Regions from separate parts of the Homo sapiens genome. Here all the other regions are linked to region 1. Evidence: promoter capture Hi-C in 16 types of primary human blood cells and fetal thymus (Javierre and others, 2016). All regions are on one chromosome and are shown on one strand. The core of a region is centred on a gene start or on the middle of the fragment in contact, and the rest is flanking DNA. Distances in the headings are between cores, read along the strand shown. Region 1 holds the start of HPSE (heparanase). Region 2 overlaps PLAC8 (placenta associated 8). Region 3 has its middle 34 kb from the start of PLAC8.

Evidence for each region. The method cuts DNA at HindIII sites, captures the fragments that hold promoters and counts their contacts. A CHiCAGO score of 5 or more calls a contact.
Region 2: a contact is called between a fragment that was not itself captured here and the fragment with the promoter of HPSE in region 1, in 2 of 17 cell types (neutrophils and monocytes). The highest score is 5.7, in neutrophils.
Region 3: a fragment that was not itself captured here is called in contact with the fragment with the promoter of HPSE in region 1 in 1 of 17 cell types (total CD8 T cells); the score reaches 5.3 in total CD8 T cells.

The regions. Positions count from the first base shown.
Region 1 is chr4:83,333,171-83,337,583 of GRCh38, reverse strand. It overlaps HPSE (heparanase), which reads left to right and starts at 2,736. Exons shown (of 12, transcript NM_001098540.3): 1 at 2,736-3,028. The coding sequence starts at 2,802. The HindIII fragment of the contact is 2,644 bases long and covers 1,656-4,299 here.
Region 2 is chr4:83,102,819-83,107,290 of GRCh38, reverse strand. PLAC8 (placenta associated 8) reads left to right here. Exons shown (of 5, transcript NM_016619.3): 3 at 2,271-2,395. Among named protein-coding and RNA genes, the nearest start is that of PLAC8, 9.7 kb to the left of the region's middle. The HindIII fragment of the contact is 2,237 bases long and covers 1,550-3,786 here.
Region 3 is chr4:83,078,661-83,082,879 of GRCh38, reverse strand. No RefSeq gene overlaps it. Among named protein-coding and RNA genes, the nearest start is that of PLAC8, 34 kb to the left of the region's middle. The HindIII fragment of the contact is 236 bases long and covers 1,453-1,688 here.

The DNA of each region.
Region 1 (4,413 bases), core at 1,487-3,986:
TTCTTTTTTTTCTTTTTTTTTTGACAGGGTCTTGCTCTGTCTCCCATTGTGCAGCGGCATGATCTTGGCTCACTGCAATCTCTGCCTCCCATGCAATTCTTATGCATCAGCCTCCTGAGTAGCTTGGATTATAGGTCTGCGCCACCACTCCTGGCTACACCATGTTGCCCAGGCTGGTCTTGAACTCTTGGGCTCTAGTGATCCACCCGCCTTGGCCTCCCAAAGTGCTGGGATTACAGGTGTGAGCCATCACACCCGGCCCCCCGTTTCCATATTAGTAACTCACATGTAGACCACAAGGATGCACTATTTAGAAAACTTGCAATGGTCCACTTTTCAAATCACCCAAACATGTTAAAGAAATTGGTATGACTGGGCATGGCACAGTGGCTCATGCCTGCAATCCTAGCATTTTGTGAGGCTGAGACGGGCAGATCACGAGGTCAGGAGATTGAGACCATCCTGACAGACATGGTGAAATCCCATCTCTACTAAAAATACAAAACAATTAGCCGGGGGTGATGGCAGGCCCCTGTAGTCCCAGCTACTCGGGAGGCTGAGGCAGGAGAATGGCGTGAATCCAGGAGGCAGAGCTTGCAGTGAGCCGAGATGGTGCCACTGCACTCCAGCCTGGGCGACAGAGCGAGACTCCGTCTCAAAAAAAAAAAAAAAGAAAGAAATTGGTATGACTGTTGACTCACAACAGGAGTCAGGGGCATGGGGTGGGGTGTAAGATTAATGTCATGACAAATGTGGAAAAGAAACTTCTGTTTTTCCAACTCCACGTCTGCTACCATATTATTACACTCTTCTGGTAGTGTGGTGTTTATGTGTGAATTTTTTTTCATATGTATACAGTAATTGTAGGATATGAACCTGATTCTAGTTGCAAAACTCACTATGAGCTTAGCTTTTAAGTTGCTTAAGAATAGGTAGATCTATGCAAATAATGATAATTATTATTATTATTTTAAGAGAGGGTCTCACTTTGTCACCCAGGCTGGAGTGCAGTGGTGTGATTAAGGGTCACTGCAACCTCCACCTCCCAGGCTCAAATAAACCTCCCACCTCAGCCTCCCCAGTAGCTGGAACCACAGGCACGGGCCACCACGCCTGGCTAATTTTTTGTATTTTTTGTAGAGATGGGGTTTCATCATGTTGCCCAGGCTGTTCTTGAATTCCTCGGCTCAAGCAATCCTCCCACCTTGGCCTCCCAAAATGCTGGCATCACAGGCATGATGGCATCACTGGCATCACATACCATGCCTGGCCTGATTTATGCAAATTAGATATGCATTTCAAAATAATCTATTTTTATTTGTTGCCTTATTGGTGGTACAATCTCAAGTGGAAAAATCTAAGGGTTTTGGTGTTATTTGCTTACTCAACCAATATTTATTAGACTCTTACTAAGCACCAACATGATCACATGCCTGAGCTATGGCTAGCATAGCGTGTGAGACAAACTTAATCTCTGTTTTGGTGGAGCATATAATCTAGTAGATGAAGCCAATGTTGAGCAACATCACAATACTAACAAATTGAGGATGCTACGAGAGTGTCTAACAAATTGAGGATGCTACGAGAGTGTCTAACAAATTGAGGATGCTATGAGAGTGTGTCATGGAGAGCTGCCTGGAGATTGAGAGAAAGCTTCCTTGAGGGAAGTTACATTTCAGCTGAAACACACTGCCATCTGCTCGAGGTTTTGTAACTGCATTCACATCCCGATTCTGACACTTCACATCCCGATTCTGACACTTCACCCAGTTACTGTCTCAGAGCTTGGGTCCGCATGTGTAAAACAAGGACAGTATGCACTTGGCAGGGTTGTGAGAAGGGAAGAGAACACAAGTAAAGCACCTGTATCAGGCATACAGTAGGCACTAAGCGTGCGATGCTTGCTATGATTATACATCAGTGTAAGCATCAAGGAAAAGCTGAAGAAAAGTCTGACCAACAGCGAAAGATAAATGCGCAGAGGAGAAATTTGGCAAAGGCTCCAAATTCAGGGGCAGTCCGTACTCTACACTTTGTATGGGGGCTTCAGGTCCTGAGTTCCAGACATTGGAGCAACTAACCCTTTAAGATTGCTAAATATTGTCTTAATGAGAAGTTGATAAAGAATTTTGGGTGGTTGATCTCTTTCCAGCTGCAGTTTAGCGTATGCTGAGGCCAGATTTTTTCAAGCAAAAGTAAAATACCTGAGAAACTGCCTGGCCAGAGGACAATCAGATTTTGGCTGGCTCAAGTGACAAGCAAGTGTTTATAAGCTAGATGGGAGAGGAAGGGATGAATACTCCATTGGAGGTTTTACTCGAGGGTCAGAGGGATACCCGGCGCCATCAGAATGGGATCTGGGAGTCGGAAACGCTGGGTTCCCACGAGAGCGCGCAGAACACGTGCGTCAGGAAGCCTGGTCCGGGATGCCCAGCGCTGCTCCCCGGGCGCTCCTCCCCGGGCGCTCCTCCCCAGGCCTCCCGGGCGCTTGGATCCCGGCCATCTCCGCACCCTTCAAGTGGGTGTGGGTGATTTCGTAAGTGAACGTGACCGCCACCGAGGGGAAAGCGAGCAAGGAAGTAGGAGAGAGCCGGGCAGGCGGGGCGGGGTTGGATTGGGAGCAGTGGGAGGGATGCAGAAGAGGAGTGGGAGGGATGGAGGGCGCAGTGGGAGGGGTGAGGAGGCGTAACGGGGCGGAGGAAAGGAGAAAAGGGCGCTGGGGCTCGGCGGGAGGAAGTGCTAGAGCTCTCGACTCTCCGCTGCGCGGCAGCTGGCGGGGGGAGCAGCCAGGTGAGCCCAAGATGCTGCTGCGCTCGAAGCCTGCGCTGCCGCCGCCGCTGATGCTGCTGCTCCTGGGGCCGCTGGGTCCCCTCTCCCCTGGCGCCCTGCCCCGACCTGCGCAAGCACAGGACGTCGTGGACCTGGACTTCTTCACCCAGGAGCCGCTGCACCTGGTGAGCCCCTCGTTCCTGTCCGTCACCATTGACGCCAACCTGGCCACGGACCCGCGGTTCCTCATCCTCCTGGGGTAAGCGCCAGCCTCCTGGTCCTGTCCCCTTTCCTGTCCTCCTGACACCTATGTCTGCCCCGCCAGCCGCTCTCCTTCTTTTGCGCGGAAACAACTTCACACCGGAACCTCCCCGCCTGTCTCTCCCCACCCCACTTCCCGCCTCTCATTCTCCCTCTCCCTCCCTTACTCTCAGACCCCAAACTGCTTTTTGGGGGGTATCATTTAAAAAATAGATTTAGGGGTTACAAGTGCAGTTCTGTTCCATGGGTATATTGCATTGTGGTGGCATCTGGGCTCTTAGTGTAACTGTCACCCGAATGTTGTACATTGTATCTAATAGGTAATTTCTCATCCCTCATCCCTCTCCCACCCTCCCACCTTTTGGAGTCTCCAGTGTCTACTATTCCACTAAGTCCATGTGTACACATTGTTTAGCGCCCACTCTAAATGAGCCTTTTTGTTTCATTCATTCTGTAAGTGTTGAATAGGCACCACCTAAGGTCAGGTATAAGTGGAAATTTGAAAAAGAAACTGCCCACTTGCCCCAGTACTTCCCTAGCCAAGAGGAGGGAAACCAGGCAGGTGCACCTGAAGGCCTGTGAGTGCTTGATTTGCTGTGCAGTGTAGGACAAGTAAGATTGTGCATAGCCTTCTGTATTTAAGACTGTGTTAGGAAGATTTCTCTTTCTTTTCTTTTCTTTTTCTTTTTTCTTTTCTTTTTTTTTTTTTAGGCAGATGAAAAGGGCGTCACAGAACAGGAATAAAAATCTAAATATTCAATAAATGAGACCTAGGAGACTACTGCAGTGACTTACAAAGTCCTAATAAAAAGATGTCTCTCCAAAATGGGGCTGCAAAATGTGGTGCTGCCTTATCAGCTCTAAGTTTTTTCCTTACCTGAGAAAGAAGGAACCTGATGCAGGTTCAGGGCTCCTGCCCCATGAATGCAGGCTGACTCCAAGATGGGGAGCTACAGGGACAATCCCAGGTCTTCTAGGCCTCTTATTTAGGCCCTGGGAGCCTCCAGAGATGGCCACATCTTGACCAGCCCAGATAGAGGGAAAGATCACCATTATCTCACCTCTGTGTCAAATACCTAGATGCTGTCCTCCCTGAGCCCACACTATAGTTGCCAGCGCTAATTTAATGGGTAGTGTACTGGTTAAGAGATGGACAGACCATCCTGGCTTGACTCTCAGCTCTGGCAAAGATGAGTGACTTGGTTTTTCCATATCTCTTGGCCACACCAACCTTGATTTCTTCAGCTGTAGAATGGAATTTCTCAAGCTTGCCTCAAGGATTATTGCCCGAGGATTTGATGATATGGTAAGAGCTTCTCAGTGTTTGACCCATAGTAAGTGTTTGACGTTTCAAACGAATTGTTTCTTTCTAGGACATGGTGA
Region 2 (4,472 bases), core at 1,419-3,918, 230 kb after region 1:
AGAATTCTGGAGGCAATTAGCTTGTCACTGGGGAAAAAAAATCTCTGACTGCTTTGTTTTTTTTTTTGTTTTTTTTTTTTGTTTGTTTTTGAGACGAAGTCTCACTCTTGTCCCCCTGGCTGGAGTGCAATGGCACGATCTCCACTCACTGCAACCTCCGCCTCCCAGGTTCAAGAGATTCTCCTGCCTCAGCCTCCTGAGTAGCTGGGATTACAGGCACCCGTCACCACACCTGGCTAATTTTTGTATTTTTAGTAGAGACAAGGTTTCACCATGTTGGCCAGGCTGGTCTCAAACTCCTGACCTCAGGTGATCCGCCTGCCTGAGCCTCCCAAAGTACTGGGATTACAAGCGTGAGCCACCGCACCCAGGCTGTTTTCTTTTTATAAGATCTCCTTAAAAGATCTCTTACTTAGAGATGTCTCTAAATGAACTTGGAGGAAAGAAGTTTGGGGTGTGATGGGCGTTGCAGCGAGGAGCAAGGTGCTTAGTTCTCAATAATGACCAAGAAATAAACAAACCCACCTGCAGAAAACTTGCTCTGAAGTCTATTTGCTTGTCTTGGTCCACATAGTACTCTAAGGCAAGAAAATAAAATACATTATCCTTTAAAGTTGAAAATGACTTTGAATGAGAGTTGAATTGAACCTTGTTTTTGTTTTTTGTTTTTTTTGAGACACAGTCTCACTTTGTCACCCAGGCTAGAATGTAGTGGTGCAATCTCAGCTCACTGCAATTGTCTGTCTCCCTGGTTCAAGTGATTCTCCTACCTTGGCCTCCGAGTAGCTGGGGTTACAGGCACGCACAACCACACCCAGCCAATTTTTGTATTTTTAGTAGAGATGGGGTTTCATCGTGTTGGGCAGGCCGGTCTCAAACTCCTGACATCAAGTGATCTGCCCACCTCGGCCTTCCAAAGTGCTAGGATTACAGGCATAAGCCACCATACCTGGCCTGAAATTGAACTTTGAATGTGATAAGAATTACAATCAGGCTGGGCGTGGTGGCTCACACCTGTAATCCCAGCACTTTGGGAGGCCAAGGCGGGCAGATCACAAGGTCAGGAGTTCAAGACCAGCCTGGCCAAGATGGTGAAACCCCATCTCTACTAAAAAATACAAAAATTAACCGGGCATGGTGGTGGGTGCCTGTAGTCCCAGCTACTTGGGAGGCTGAGGCAGAAGAATTGCTTGAACCTGAGAGGTAGAGGTTGCAGTGAGCTAAGATCGCACCATTGCACTCGAGGCTGCATCTCAAAAATAAATAAATAAATAAGTAAATAAAATAAAATAAAAATAAAAAAAGAATTACACACTCAGTAGCATAGCAAGGGAAAATTACCTAGGGAATGAAACAATTGTGTTGGTTTTTTCACTCTCATTGTCTGGGGTGACGACTTAAGCTTCTCAGGGCACCAGTTCAACATCTGCAAATCAAAGTGAGAATTAGACTGCATTGGTGAAACTCTCTAAAGATGAACATTTTAACCCTCTCACCCCTAGTATTATTATTACCCAATTAAATGAATACACAAGTTCCAATCAAAGCTTAATTGCTTAATAGCAAATTTTCTTAAATGTAGATCTGATCAAATTATTCTCCCCTCTTAAAATGTTTCAGTGGTTCCTCATAACTCTCATGGCACACTCTTAACACTTACAGTTTTTCATCATCTGGTCCCCAACCTGCCTCAACCCCCAGTTAAATCCTCATCCCATCCCAGGGCTCCAGCCATATTGAATGAACACTAGCCTTTGCCAGGATATGCCAGATTACCTCGAAGAGGCTCTTTTCCTTTTTGTCCACCTTTAAAACATCTAATCATCCTTCAATATTTCCTGAGCATTTCCTACTCAGGGCCTTGTAGGCCCCATTTTTCTGGGTGACCTGTTGGTATTTCAAACACGTTTCTGTTGGAGAACTTTCCCTATGATCTGCCTTCACTACTAGACTTGAGCCAGGGGCACTGTCAGTACTGAGGATAATGTCTGGAAAATGAATAAGTTTTACTGCATCAATGAACAAATGAATGAAGGCAGAACTATGACAAGAATGATATACTTTGCAAAGGCGTGGTCATTCCTGAAATGATTTGCGGGTGGAGCGAGAAATTGATGCAAAGCTGAATAGAAACATTGAAGATGGACTTAGCAGCAGGCTTTGCGGCCAAGGCCCCATGACTCGGACTGCCATTTGTGAAAGCAAGCTAAACTTTCAGCTGTGGCAGGGGCAGAGTGGAGTAATATGTACCCCTGGTTTCATGTGTCTAGGTCTCTGTGGCACATTTTGTTTCCCGTGCCTTGGGTGTCAAGTTGCAGCTGATATGAATGAATGCTGTCTGTGTGGAACAAGCGTCGCAATGAGGACTCTCTACAGGACCCGATATGGCATCCCTGTGAGTCTCTTACCATACCATCTCACTCAAATATGCACCCCATTCAAAATAATTATTATAAACATGGAGATCATTTGATGTATACATCTTCTGAAATTGATTGATAAGAGTTCCCTAGCATGTGCAATCTTGCATTCAGTTGTAGCAACAGATCTTCTGGTTATGTGGCCTCCTTCTAGGTTTCTGCTGAAAACCTGAGAAAATTGATAACTCATATTTGCAATGGATGTCATACCATGGAAGAGGCTTATTTAGGATCTACTGTGGCGTGGATGCATTACATGTATTATCTCACTTAATCCTCACATCATCTCTGTAAAGTGGGTAGGTCCACAACATTTTGCCAAAGAGAACTTTAAAGTTTTAAGAGGTGGAGTAATTCCCTCAAAGATAATAGTAGAGAAAGAGTCGATACTCAATTCTAACTGTCCATTCATACACTTTCCATTACACCAACTCCACTTTGTGTAGGTGAGAGATTATATTACTTAGAGTCCTCCTAAGTGCATTAGAAACAGAACCAATAAGATTGGGAGTGGATGTGTGTATACACACATATATATATATACAGGCAAACCTCAGATATACAGGTTTAGTTCTAGACCACCACAATAAAGCAAATATTGCAATAAAGCAAGTCACATGAATTTTTTGGTTTCCCAGTGCACATAAAAGGTATGCTTATACTACACTATAGTCTGTTAAGTATGCAATAACATTATGTCTCAAAAAACAACATATGTACCTTAATTTTAAAATACTTTATGGCTAAAAAATACTAATAATAATCTATCTGAATCTTCAGCAATTCATAATGTTTTTGCCTGTGGAGGGTCTTGCCTCAGTGTTGGTGGCTGCTGATTGATCAGGGTGCTGGATACTGAAGGTTGGGGTGACTGTGGCAATTTCTTCAAGTAAGGCAACAATGGTCTGGGCGTGGTGGCTCACACCTATAATCCCAGCACTTCGGGAGGCCCAGGAGGGCTGATCACTTGAGGTCAGGAGTTAAAGACCAGCCTGGCCAACATGGTGAAACCCCTGTCTACTAAAAATATAGAAATTAGCCAGGCGTGGTGGCAGGTGCCTGTAATCCCAGCTACTTGGGAGGCTGAGGCAGGAGAATTGCTTGAACCCAGGAGGGAGGCTGCAGTGAGCCCAGATTGCGCCTCAGCACTCCAGCCTGGACAACAGAGCAAGACTCCATCTCAAACAAAACAAAACAAAAACAAAAAACAAATAAGGCAACAATGAAGTCTGCCTCATTGATTGACCATTCCTTTCATGAAAGGAAAGATTTCTATGCTATTTGGTAGCATTTTACCTACAATAGAACTTCTTTCAAAATTGGATTCAGTCCTCTCAAACCCTGTTACGGCTTTATCAACTAAGCTTATGGAATATTCTCAATCCTTTGTTGTTATTTCAACCATGGTCACAGCATCTTCACCAGGAGTTGATTCCATCTCAAGAAACCACTTTCTTTCTTTCTTTCTTTCTTTGTTGAGATGGAGTCTCACTCTGTTGCCAGGCTGGAGTGCAGTGGTGAGATCTCGGCTCACTGCAACCTCCGCCTCCCAGGTTCAAGCGATTCTCCTGCCTCATCCTCCCGAGTAGCTGAGATTACAGGTACCCGCCACCGTGCCCAGCTAATTTTTGTATTTTTAGTAGAGACAGGGTTTCACCATGTTGGCCAGGATGGTCTTGATCTCTTGACCTTGTGATCCGCCCGCCTCGGCCTCCCACAGTGCTGGGATTACAGGCAGAAGCCACCGCGCCCAGCCTCAAGAAATAGCTTTCTTTTTTTTTTTTTTAAAGGGAGTCTTGCTCTGTCACCCAGGCTGGAGTGCAGTGGCGCCATCTCGGCTCACTGCAAGCTCCGCCTCCCAGATTCACGCCATTCTCCTGCCTCGGCCTCCTGAGTAGCTGGGATTACAGGTGCCCGCCACTACGCCCGGCTAATTTTTTGTATTTTTAGTAGAGACGGGGTTTCACCGTGTTAGCCAGTATTGTCTCAATCTCCTGACCTCATGATCCGCCCGCCTCGGCCTCCCAAGGTGTTGGGATTACAGGCGTGAGC
Region 3 (4,219 bases), core at 321-2,820, 250 kb after region 1:
CCGCCGGCTTTATGTGGCTCAGAACAAGGAGAGTGAGACTCTTTTTGCTTGGAAGAAAGTAACAGAATGGAACAGGAGTCTCTCTGCCTGATAATGCAGAGAATTCTTCTGGATCTTTTCCAAGACCATCAAGGTAGTACCTCCATGAGTCTGCAAGAAAACAGTGTTACTGGGATTGGGGTGCTCTCTAAATCAGATACAGCTTACATCACAATATCCAAGTACTTTCAAATATCTGGAAAGCCTTTCTAAGAGGGATGGGTACAAATAAGCCTAGACAGTGAAGACTACAATAAATACTTCACTCTTCAATGCCCAGACACTGAAGAACATTTACTAACATCAACACCATCCAGGAAAACATGACCTCCCAAATGAACTAAATGAGCCACCAGGGACCAATCCTGGAGAAACAGAGATGTGTGACCTTTCAGGCAGAGAATTCAAAATAGCTGTGTTGAGGAAACTCAAGAAATTCAAGATAACACAGAGAAGGAATTCAAAATTATATCAGATACATTTAACAAAAAGATTAAAATAAAAAGAATCAAACTGAGATTCCAGAGCTAAAAATGCAATTGGCATACTGAACAATGCATTAGAGGCTTTCAGTAGCAGAATTGATCAAGCAGAAGAAAGAATTAGTGAGCCTGAAGACAGGCTATTTGAAAATACACAGTCAGGGCCAGTCATGGTGGCTCATGCCTGTAATCACAGCATTTCAGGAGGTCGAGGCAGAAGGATCACTTGAGCCCAGGAGTTTGAGTCTAGCCTAGACAATGTAGTGAGACCCCCCCCCTCCTTAAAAAAATAAAAAAGGCCAGGCGCAGTGGCTCATGCCTATAATCCCAGCACTTTGGGGAGGCCAAGGCAGGTGGATCACCTGAGGTTGGGAGTTCGAGACCAGCTTGACCAAGATGGAGAAACCCTATCTCTACTAAAAATACAAAATTAGCCGGGTATGGTGGCACATGTCTGTAATCCCAGCTACTTGGGAGGCTGAGGCAGGAGAATAGCTTGAACCTGGGAGGCGGAGGTTGCAGTGAGCCAAGATCATACCACTGCACTCCACCCTGGGCAACAGAGCCAGGCTCCATCTCAAAACAAAACAAAACAAAAAAAAGAGCTAAAGAGAGAGTTAGGCCCCAATACAATAATAGCTGGAGACTTCGACACCCCACTTTCAGCACTGGATGGATCTTCCAGGCAGAAAAATCAATAAAGAAACATCAGACTTAATCTGCACAATAGACCAAATGGATCCAGTAGATAATTACGGAACATTTCATCCAATGGCTGTGGAATACACATGCTTTTCCTCAGCATATGGATCATTCTCAAGGATGGATCATTTTAATAAGAAATTTAAAAATTTCTTGGAACAAATGCTAATGGGAGCACAACATACCAAAATCTATGGGATACAGCAAAAGCAGTACTAAGAGGGAAGCTTATCGTTATAGTGCCTACATCAAAAAAGAGGGAAACTTATAGTGCCTACATTAAATAAACAATCTAATGATGCATCTTAAAGAATTAGGAAAACAAGAGCAAACCAAATCCAAAATTAGTAGAAGAAATAATAAAGATCAGAACAGAAATAAATGAAATTAAAATGAAGTAAACAATACAAAAATCAATGAAACAAAAAGTTGGTTTTTTGAAAAGTTAAGCAAAATTGACAAGCTTTTAGCCAGACTAAGAAAAAAAGAGAGATCTAAATTTACCTTCAGTATTGAAAATAATGCGAAGATGAAATACATAGCATATCGAGTTGGCATTATGTGTAAAGGGGCAGAAGCCATACATGATTAAATAATTTGGCATAAGAGATTTCTTGTATTTTTGGCCTGTGTTTTCACTTCTATGATCTTCAAAACACTCACAGTACTTGTATTTGGGGAGTGGTTGTGGTCTACAAATTTCGTAAGTACCTGCTGTCCATCTGAAAGTCTGGTTATTTCTCAGCCATTGCAATTAGGTGATTTTCTACGTTTGCAGCACGAATAACAATTAACTTTTAAACTGTTTCACTGTTAAGTAGCCTCATACACTTAACACAGCCTTTTTGCAAGGGAACAATTTCACAGATCTCTTCCATTGTGTGGTAAGCAATACAGTAAGAAGAAATGATGTTCAGCTTCCCCAATACCAAATCTGTATTAGTCAGGGTTCTCTAGAGAGACAGAACCAATAGGATATGAGAGGAAATTTATTAGGGAACTTGGCTCATGCAATTATGGTGGCTGAAAAGACCCACGGTGAGGCCATCCGAAAGCTGGAGACCTTGGGATACCGGTAGCATGGTTCAGTCCAACTCCAAAGGCCTCAGAACCAGGAAAGCTGATGGTGCAACTATCCATCTGAGGCCAAAAGCCTCAGGATCCAGGGGGCCACTGGTGTAAGTTCCGGAGTCCGAAGGCTGGCAAACCTGGAGTTCTGGGTCCAAGACAGGAGAAGAAAAGTCTGTCCCAGATCTCAGAGAGAGACCAATTTGCCTTCTATATTTGTTCTGTTTGGGACCCTGGTCAAGTAGTTGGTGCCTCCCAACAATGAGGGCAGATCATCCCCCACTTAGTCCACTCAGACTCACATTCTAATCTCTGAAAACACTCTCACAGCCACATCCAAAATAATGCTTTACCAGGTTTCTAGGTATTCCTTAATCCATTCAAGTTGACACCTAAAATTATGTCCACTGTCCACCCCTTGTCAATTTGGCACTCATTTGCATCCCCTTAAATCACACTTAATTTCCAAATAAAGACAAAAAGGCTATGGTTCTGCTTGACATGACACAACTAACATGATGCAACCATCCTGTGTACAACCAAAAAATACACTAATCCCCTTCCCCAGAATTTGGCTTTCAGGGTTTCAACATTGAGGATTTTAATCTTTTGGGATTGTAATTTTCAGGATTTTAGACATGAGGGATTTAGACTTTAGAAATTTTGAACTTTAAGGATTTTGATCTTTTGGGACATCAACATTTGGGGTTTGGCATTCAGGATTGTGTCTTTCAGGATTATGATTATGAGGCAGAATTGCTTGAACCCGGGAGGCAGAGGTTGCAGTGAGCCAAGATCACACCACTGCACTCCAGCCTGGGTGACAAGAGCAAAACTCTGTCTCAAAAAGAAAAAAATTCCATTGTTGTCTGAGAACATACAGTGTATAATTTCTATTCTTTTACATTTTGAGGTGTGTTTTATGGCCCAGGTTGGTCTACCTCAGTGAACGCTCCAAGTGAGCTGACAAGAGTGAGTACTCTGTTGTTGCAGGACGAAGCAGTCTATGGATGTCAATTATATTCAGTTGATTGGTGGTGCTGTTGAGTACAACAATGTCCTTACTGATTTTCTACTTACTGGATCTGTCCTTTGCTGATAGGCATTGAAGTTGAGATCTCCAACTATAATAGTGGATTCATCTATTTCTCCTTGCAGTTTTATCAGTTTCTGCCTCATGTATTTTTTGATACTCTTGCTGACACTCTGATTTTATTTTATTTTATTTTATTTATTTATTTTGAGACGGAGTTTCACTCTGCTGCCCAGGCTGGAGTGAAGTGGTGTGATCTCAGCTCACTGCAACCTCCACCCCCAGGATTCAAGTAATTCTCCTGCCTCAGCCTCCCAAGTAGCTGGGATTACAGGCATCCGCCACCATGCCTGGCTAATTTTTGTATTTTTAGTAGAGATAGGGTTTCGCCATATTGGCTAGGCTGGTCTCAAATTCCTGACCTCAGGTGATCCACCTGCCTCAGCCTCCCAAAGTGCTAGGATTACAGGCGTGAGCCACCACGCCTGGCTGACACTCTGGTTTTAAATAAGCATTTTATCATTCTATTTCTCTCCTCTCTTAGCATAACAATTATATTTCTTTAAAAAGTTTTTTAATAGTGATTTAGAGTTTGCAATATACATTTACAACTAATCTAAGTCAAGTTTCAAATAACACTATACTGTGTCATGGTTGTGCGGATACTTCATAACAGGGTATTCCCAATTCCTTCCTCCCATCACTTACACTCCAGTCATTCACTTCAGTTATCCCTAGGCTATAGCTATCCACACATTGTTGCTATAATTCCTTTAAATAAAGTTATCTATTAAATCAATTAAATTTTTTAAAAAGATTTTACCTTCCTGTTTTTTTGCTCTGATACTCTTCCTTTCTTTATGTAGATCTGAGTTTCTAATCCATATCATTTTCC